Linked DNA regions of Homo sapiens: region 1 is linked to region 2. The links are contacts of gene promoters, found by promoter capture Hi-C in human tissues and cell types (Jung and others, 2019). All regions are on one chromosome and are shown on one strand. The core of a region is centred on a gene start or on the middle of the fragment in contact, and the rest is flanking DNA. Distances in the headings are between cores, read along the strand shown.

Evidence for each region. The method cuts DNA at HindIII sites, captures the fragments that hold promoters and counts their contacts. A contact is called where the count stands out against the background at its distance.
Region 1: a fragment that was not itself captured here is called in contact with the fragment with the promoter of SMIM15 in region 2 in 1 of the 25 tissues and cell types used here (mesenchymal stem cells).

What each region holds. Positions count from the first base shown.
Region 1 is chr5:61,321,912-61,325,990 of GRCh38, forward strand. The region is part of intron 1 of LOC105378994 (a long non-coding RNA gene); the gene reads right to left. Among named protein-coding and RNA genes, the nearest start is that of ZSWIM6, 8.3 kb to the right of the region's middle. The HindIII fragment of the contact is 5,952 bases long and covers 1-4,079 here.
Region 2 is chr5:61,159,619-61,163,741 of GRCh38, forward strand. It overlaps SMIM15 (small integral membrane protein 15), which reads right to left and starts at 2,850. Exons shown (of 3, transcript NM_001048249.4): 1 at 2,599-2,850; 2 at 1,470-1,609; 3 at 1-581. The coding sequence starts at 553. The coding sequence ends at 329. SMIM15-AS1 (SMIM15 antisense RNA 1) reads left to right here and starts at 2,698. Exons shown (of 4, transcript NR_109908.1): 1 at 2,698-2,908. RefSeq lists enhancers at 2,017-2,913, 2,399-2,478, 2,549-2,808, 3,339-3,438, 3,479-3,538 and a silencer at 2,989-3,098. The HindIII fragment of the contact is 13,088 bases long and covers 1-4,123 here.

The sequences.
Region 1 (4,079 bases), core at 917-3,416, 160 kb after region 2:
GTGAGAGGATGTAAAATTGTGGACATTTGCCTATTAAGGAGACAAGCAAACTATTTTTTTCCTTTTTCAGATTTTTCAAGTTTTTCAGGTATGTCTGGTCAAGTTTTCTGTGGATATTAGCAACTATCAAGTATGAAGATTATAGAACAACAAAAAAAGCAACATTACATGTTTATGTCTTGCTCTGGAAGTCGAGATTTTTATTTCCTTGTGAAATAGATAATAAAAAAATAAAATTAACAATGTATATACACCATGGTTCTTTGTAACCCGAGTGTCACAAAGAGCTCTATAAAATATCTGAAGTGCTTGAGGTTGCCTAGAGGGAAAAGGTAAAGATTCTCACTACAGAGCTAATAGTTCCTGCTCAACAATTTGAATTTCACTTAAGAATAAACCTGAGAGCCCACATCTGGGAGAGCATGTTTACCTTTAATGTAGCAGTTTGGAGGTGGAGGCATTCCTGGAAGAGAACAATGCCTGATGCATTATAGGCACAAAAATAAAGATTTGTTGATGACACCGAAGCCCTGCCTCCACACCAACATTCTCTCAATTCACAAATACTATCAAAGGAAGAAAACTCTAGAACTCCATTAGAGTGGATATCTCCCCGCTCTTAATCTCCCAGAGATCATTGTTTCCTATTTCCATGGAAACTAGAAGACTTGAAATTGCCAAAACTTGAGAGACACTTGAGATGAAAGCCAGAAAAAAAAAATTAACAAAAGACAAATGTTACAGGCAGCATGTATGACAGTGTGGTAAAGTTTCTGACATTTGTTTGGGAAGATTTTCTTATTTCTTTGCTTGGAAGAATGCAATGATTTCCAGAATGTGGCCATAATAGCTTCACACCATGCTGCTGAATGTTCATCGAGTAGATTTTACTCTTTTCTAGAAAGGAAAGGAAAGACCCATGGGCCTTGGCAGCAATCAAGTGAATGTTAAGCTGTTGGAAATTGCTCTCCTGGCACACCTTGATGTTAACCACAATGAGGAGGCCAGTCTGGCTGAAGTGCCCTTGCTCCCTCCCTTCCATGCAGTGAACAAATATTTATTGAGCACCTACTATTCTCCAGGTAATGTGTCCTACATACAACTAAATGAAAAATTACAACTCAGATAAGAGCCCCTAGGAGAAGTACACGTAACTACTAGAGTGTGTAATAGACAGAACTGACCTGTCAGGGCGGCCAGGCTTTCCTAAGGAAGTGTGATTAAGCCGAGCAGGAGGAAACTAGGCAGTGGTTGTGGGGCCTGGGGAAGGAGAACATTCCAGGGAGCAGGAACTCTTGGGCAAAGGCCTCTGGAGGAAGTGAGTGTTAAAGGAATTGAAAGTAGGCCTGAGTAGCCTGTGTTGGCAGAGCTCCAGAGAGCAAAGGGAATGAACTTGGGGTAAGGCCATTTGGAGAGGTGGGCAGGGACCAGGTCATTCCTAATGCACAGTCTTGAGTCTTGCAGGGCAGGCTTGTTAAGGATTTGGTTTCTAACCCTCCCCTCTCCAGGGTGAACTCAAGCTGTCATAGGAGTGCATGGCATACAGTCCTTGTGTGTGACCTGGGAATGCAGATTTTGTTTCATCTGAAATCTGTCAAAACATTGCCATAGATTTCAGAAGTGAACCACCAAGTTCCAAAGGTTATAATTTCATTAAATGCTTTAAACCTAAATCATGTTCAGTAAATATTATTTTACACATGATGATTCAGTAGGCATCTTGGACTCATCATCACAAATGTCAATTATCATCCTATATTAACCCCTCAGAAGCCAGAGTTTGGTCATCTAATAACTTCTCCATTTTCTGGGACCTAGCTGGAATCTAGGAAGTCTGCAAGAGGCAAAATAAATGTGACAAAGATCGTGTACATTTTAACCAGGTGGGAGATTCTCATTAAGAACTTCGCTGATTTTACTTTACACATAATTGTAGAAATAAGGTTCTCCGGGTTCAGAGGCTACAACATGGGGAGAGCAATAATTCAGAAAGTGAGAAGCGACATTATGGGTGGTTATATGACAATAATTAACAGTAAGAGGGGCTAGGCATGGAGGTACATGCCTGTAGTCTTAGCTACTCAGGAGACTGAGGCAGGAGAATCACTTGAGCCCAGGAGTTTGAGTCCAGCCTCGGCAATACAGCAAGATCGACTCTAAATAAACAACAAAAAAGTGAAAGTAACAGGAAATAGCACAACTGTAAAGGCTGAGACCAACAAACCAAAACAAAACCTAGAACAAACTAAATAAAAAATGGAGGGAAAAGAAGGGAAGGGAAAGAAGGGGAAAGAAGGGAAGGGGAGGGGAGGGAAGTGGGGAGGGAAGGGAAGGGCAAAAGAAATAAAGAGAAAAAGAGAAGAAAAACCAAGCCAGCAATCTGGGTTTTTTGTTATGAACAAGCAACCTTGCGTACCTTAGTAGCTCTTAAGGGCATCATTGTGTTTATAATCAGTCCTTATAATATGCTTAAGAAGTCAAAGAAGTGTGTCATGTTTTAGAAAGATTTCTAGTGTGCAGGGTTAAGCCTGTATTTTTATTTTATTTTGAGACAGAGTCTCACTCAGTCACCCAGAATGGAGTGCAGTGGCGTGATCTCAGCTCACCGCAACCTCTGCCTCCCAGGTTCAAGCCGTCTTGTGCCTCAGCCTCTGGAGTAACTGGGATTACAGGTGCTTGCCACCAAGCCCAGCAAATTTTGTGTATTTTTAATAGAGACAGGGTTTTGCCATGTTGGCCAGGCTGGTCTCAAACTCCGGGCCTCAAATGATCTGCCTGCCTCGGCCTCCCAGAGTGCTGGGATTACAGGTGTGAGCCACCACACATAGCCCCGTTAAGCTTTTAAAAAGATTTTTGGGCCAGGAGCAGTGGCTCATGCCTGTAATCCCAACACTCTGGGAGGCCAAAGCGGGCGGATCACCTGAGGTCGGGAGGTGAAGACCAGCCTGACCAACATGGGGAAACCCCATCTCTACTAAAAATACAAAATTAGCCGGGAATGGTGGCGCATGCCTGTAATCCCAGCTACCTGGGAGGCTGAGACAGGAGAATCGCTTGGACCCCAGAGGCGGAGGTTGTGGGAAGCCGAGATCGCTCCATTGCACTCCAGCCTGGGCAACAAGAACAAAACTCTGTTTCAAAAAAAGAGATGTTTGGTCCTTAAAAAGTACAACTTCAGCTCTTTGGGAAACCTGTCCAATCTGGGTGGTTTTCACAAAAGTTCTGCATAACCATGGTTTTATTGCAACGTGATTCCGTGGGGGTGTGAGTTAATATAGATTTCACGTTGAAAAATGTCTGATACACCAGCTTTTACTGAAACCTCTTCATTTTCACAAGTTATCTAATTCTGGATTTGAACAAAGTCATTGGAAGTGACATTTTTCACATCTGAATTGTCATGATTCCTTTCTTGACAGGGAGTGAATTCTTGAATATTTAAAAATACTGTAGGTGATAAAATGCCGTTAATAAATTTGTTTCAGAATTTGGCTTTCATGTTTAAAATTTTAATTTTCATGTATCTTAAATGCAAATAATCTTTATCTAGGCATAAGGTGCCCCCTAAAGTTACCTGGCTGTCTAGATTTTACATCTTTACTTCCTCCAAATAGGAATGAGAATGAACAAAGTACTATTTGATCACTTTGAAAAATGCTCATTCTATATCCTTACAAAGTGAATTTTGGAATGACATTACTTTCTGTAAATACATCCTTCATACATGTCAGAGCACCTTTTGTCTCCCTAGAGAATATGTCTTAAACCTCTTTTTCTTGTACCATCTCACATTATCAGAGATATCTGCAAGAGAGTGACCTAGTAGGGTGAGGCAATTTTGAGAAAATCATTAATTTTCTAAATTATGATTCTCTATACTAACACTTTTTTAGTGTTTAAAAGTGGGAGTTTTTTCCTAGTTAACACAGGTAAATAAATACTGAAATAAATGTCTTTACATTATCCTATTAAATAGATTAAATAGTATTCTTTTGTTTATCCTGTGACAATCTTAACAAAATAGTTCATAAAAAGTTAGTTATTTAAAAGGGGAAATATTAAGGTTATAAGGAAATGTG
Region 2 (4,123 bases), core at 1,600-4,099:
TAATCTAAAGTCACTTTTCCCCACAAGATGTTTTCATTTCAGTATATAAACTGCTAAGCGGCAAATGACTAAGTCAGTTATAAAGAATTTGTACCACAGTAAATGCTAATTTACAATAACTGTCAATAGAAACCTATAAACTTCTACACCCACGCCTAAAAGTTACTATAGTATTGAGGTCAGAACTAACATGATTCTTCCATTTGGTCAAATTTCATTTACTAAATCATACTGTCAAGAAATCCAAAGAAGAAACTTTAGTGGATTCTTCCAAAGCTGTGTAATTTTCCAAATGATTTTCCTCTGGTTGCAAAGCCTGTTCAGTCCTTCAATCCTTTTTTAGTCGTTTAGCTTTTGCAATGTTTTCTTGGCGTTTTTGCTTCTTCTTTTGCTCCTTCTCCCTGGCCTCAATCATCTTGGCCAATTTCCAAGACAGTACAGCACTTGCTAGGAACAGTGGAGTAAGGGCCAAAATAACGGTTGTAAGGAAGCCATAGGGGTCCTTTGCAGCCCATTCCACAACATACTCAGCCCAAGCCTTTATATCAAACATCTTCACAGCAGTCTTATGAAAACTGGGGCTGGGGGAGGCGGGTGGAGAACACAGAGGAAAAAAACAGGAGAAAAGACTATGTGGTTAATCAAATTTTGAAAAAGTTTCCTCACACAACCAGTTAACTCAGGATTCCATTATCACTCAGTTTGCTTTTTTAAAAAGTACAACTTAGTACTATTGTAATAAGGACTAGTATCTCTGGTTAGGAAAAAGTAATTCATCTAGTACAGCCAGAATAGTGACACTTCAAAGAGGTAAAGTTATAGAAGATTTAAAAAAGCCATGTGACTCTGTCATAAGGACTATGCATTCTCACATGCCTCCTATATTCAAGACAAACTTTATTTAGGAGGAGGCTTTTATAAAAATCTTGAGTTTTCTGTGGTCATTCCAGGAAACAGCTGAATACAGTTTGTCATTTTTTGACATATCCTTAGTATTACTAATTAACAAAAATACAAATCAGCAAATTTGGTGTTTGAAAAGGACAAGCAACAGAGCATGTGAAATGCTCGCAGAGAAGGAGAGATGACTATTTCCCCGAATGGGAAGGAGAGGGTAAGGGAGTCATGACATCGCATTAATATGCCAAAGAAGCAAAAAGTACTGTGCTATTTTATGCCCTTTCAGCTTTGAGGACCTCTGTTGGAATAAGCCTAATTTAATAAATGAGAAAGTAGCCTTAACAGATGCCATGTGTTTTGTTCCTTTTTGAGTGTAAGGAAAAGGCAACTGGCAAATGAGGATTATGTGACTTGAGTGACGTTTTCTATTTTGCCCCAGAGGCTTTTCTCCCTTTCATGTTTGTGTCAACCGCTATTCAAAGTGGAGAATTAGAATACCTGGGTAGGGAATGAGTGTATATACATCCACTTACAATTTCAACTGGAATTTTTTTAAAAAAATCATCTACCTTATGCTTGAGTAGTGATCCCTTAACTTTGTCCTGGTGTTATTAGTGACCCAATCACGACTTCAGATGACCCTTGGTAGTCTGTCTTCTTGAGTTCTACTGTACACATCTGAGAGACGGTTTAAATTCTGTACAATTGGCTAGTTGGAAAGAATACAAAAAATAAAACAAAATTTAAGTCACAATTTCAGGATAATTGTAATAAAATTTTAAATGGAAAATTTCTATATTGTATATATGCAACCTATATGACATCTAAAATTGCCTATCCGGTATAGTAACTTAATACGTTTCTTCCTCATTTGAATTTACAATTGCAAATGCCCTGTAAGAAAATCCTAATTACTGGAAATCAAGTATTTTACTAAGTTACTTATTTCAATAATAAAATTTTTTTAGTTCATTGACATACGGGAGACAAGTTGGCTCACTGACTGACTTACACAGCGTATCCGTTCCTAGATTTTCAATTTTTATACTAAAAATGTTGCCACTCATTTATTTACTGGATTAGGTACACCACTACAAAATCAAACAGCTCATCTTACTCTTTATAAAGGTTTTTTTGGGTCCATCATACAATTTGTGTCCTTTACTTAAAAAATTAGAAGACATAACCAAACAAATTATAGTAATTCACCCACAGTCCCATTACCCCAAGAAAACTGTGACTAGTTTTAATTATATCTTCCCCACGATTTTCAACTGAACACACATGAAAGTGCCTAATACGTTAAATATCTTAGCTCCTGGACTTCATACGACCTCACCCATACAGTTAGAATTAGGTACTACTGAGATCGATCTGCCTTCACCTTCTCCAGCCCAGTAGCGAATAAACAATGTAAGTTTCAGAAATAAGCAAAAGAACTTTGCAGTAAAAGAGCCATGGTCCACAGGCCACACATCTCCCTGCAACTCAACTTCGGACCCAAACGCTCGCGCCTCCACACTTTCAGGAATAAATCCTACTCTTCCGCCCAAAACGGATCGACCAGGCTCGATCTCCCAACCAGACCCGCGTGGCCCCTGCGGCTGCAACGGGTAGCACTTGACGGCCGTCCGCACTTCCTCCTTTGTCTTTCCCTTATTCCTTACGTTTCTCCCTTGCTCACTCTTCCCTCCTTACCCTATCGGGGCTGCAGACCCACGGAGGCCACGTTCACTCCTGCCCGTCGGCCTTGGCAAGCGCGGGCCCCTTGTCGCGCAGAGCGGAGGGTCCTGGGAGATCCTGGGTTGGCCCAGCCACACCTTGCGCCGCCGCCGTTTCTGCTGGACACCAGGAGAAAACCACGGCAGCTGCAGCCACCAACTTCCCCTACATAGCCCCACGGGATCGGATCCCACTCCCCACTCACCGCCAGACCGGAAGCAGGAAGGCGGAAGTCGCGGCCTTTGCGTCCCGCCCACAGGCGACCCGAGCCGCCAGCCGGGCGTGAGTAAGTCTAGGGCCCAGTTTCCGGCTGCGCCATTGCTGTGTGGGTCTTGGGACCTCGAGTTGGAGGACGCGGGAGGGTGGGGGCGGGGGCAGGGCAGCGCTGAGATTTCCGGGGAGCGGCAGGTGAGGCCGCGCGGGGCGGGTGACGGCACCCGGGCGGGCTCCTTTCCAGGCTGGAGCCCGAGACTGCCACGTCCTGCGGGGACCAAGTGGTGGGCGAGGAGGCGTGGAGCGGCTTCAGGACTCGAGGAGCGGTTCCGAAGCAGCTAGGGACTTTTGCCTTTGCCCCCCGAGGTCGATCGGAAGACAACCCCCATCCCCTGCTGTAGCGGGACAGTTGGAGGGTCATGGGTGGGTGAAGTGTTTGGCTGAGGGAAACTCAGACCAAAGAGCAGCGGCAAGAAAGCAGTTGGGTCCCCACAAAACGCCCGAAGTCAAGGTGAGGGTCACACAACGACTCTTGACGATTCCGGCGAGTTCATCCTGGTGCACATCCCACTCCATGCCTCTCTCTTCTGGTTGGACAATAGTTACATCCTTACGAAAAGGAGGCAAGCTACTGGGCCTTGGTGGATCCACTCAACCTTGTTACCAAGGGACATGCCGCCATGCTATGTGAAAAGGGGGGTTTTGTTGTTTGTTTTTAATTTAAGTATCTAATTCGTTTCACGAAAGAATGATCAATACCGGCCCAGAGTAAACTTGATAAGTAATTAAACTGTCAGGGCATAGAGTTCCCATAGAGGTGCTTGTTCTTTCAATACACAAATAAAGGGATGCAAAAGTCAACATGCAGAAAGGGTGAGTTAATATTGTCTTCTAATCTACAGGAACTGAAAGATTAGCTAATCTGGTTTGGTTGGTGACCAAATTTTGTGATTGCTTGCACTGTTTGACTACCTCTGACAAATGTTGCAAGACCTCTTCACTGATTCTCCAAAGACTATAGAATGTTCTCTTTCAGGAGCAAGCTGCGACATGTTTAACTAGTTTAGGTAAAACAACAATAACTGTTATTTACCAGGGAACAGGCTTTTGGCAGATAATCTAACGATCTACGATACTGTTCGTTGGGCATATGTTAATGTTTGTAATGTTGTATTACCAGCAGTTGTTTTCTTACTCCTTTTTATTTGAAAACCTGGATGATAGTTTCAAAGCCTATGCTGCTTAGGCCTAGCCTGTACCTTAGTAGCCAGAAAAAGTAGACTCAGTC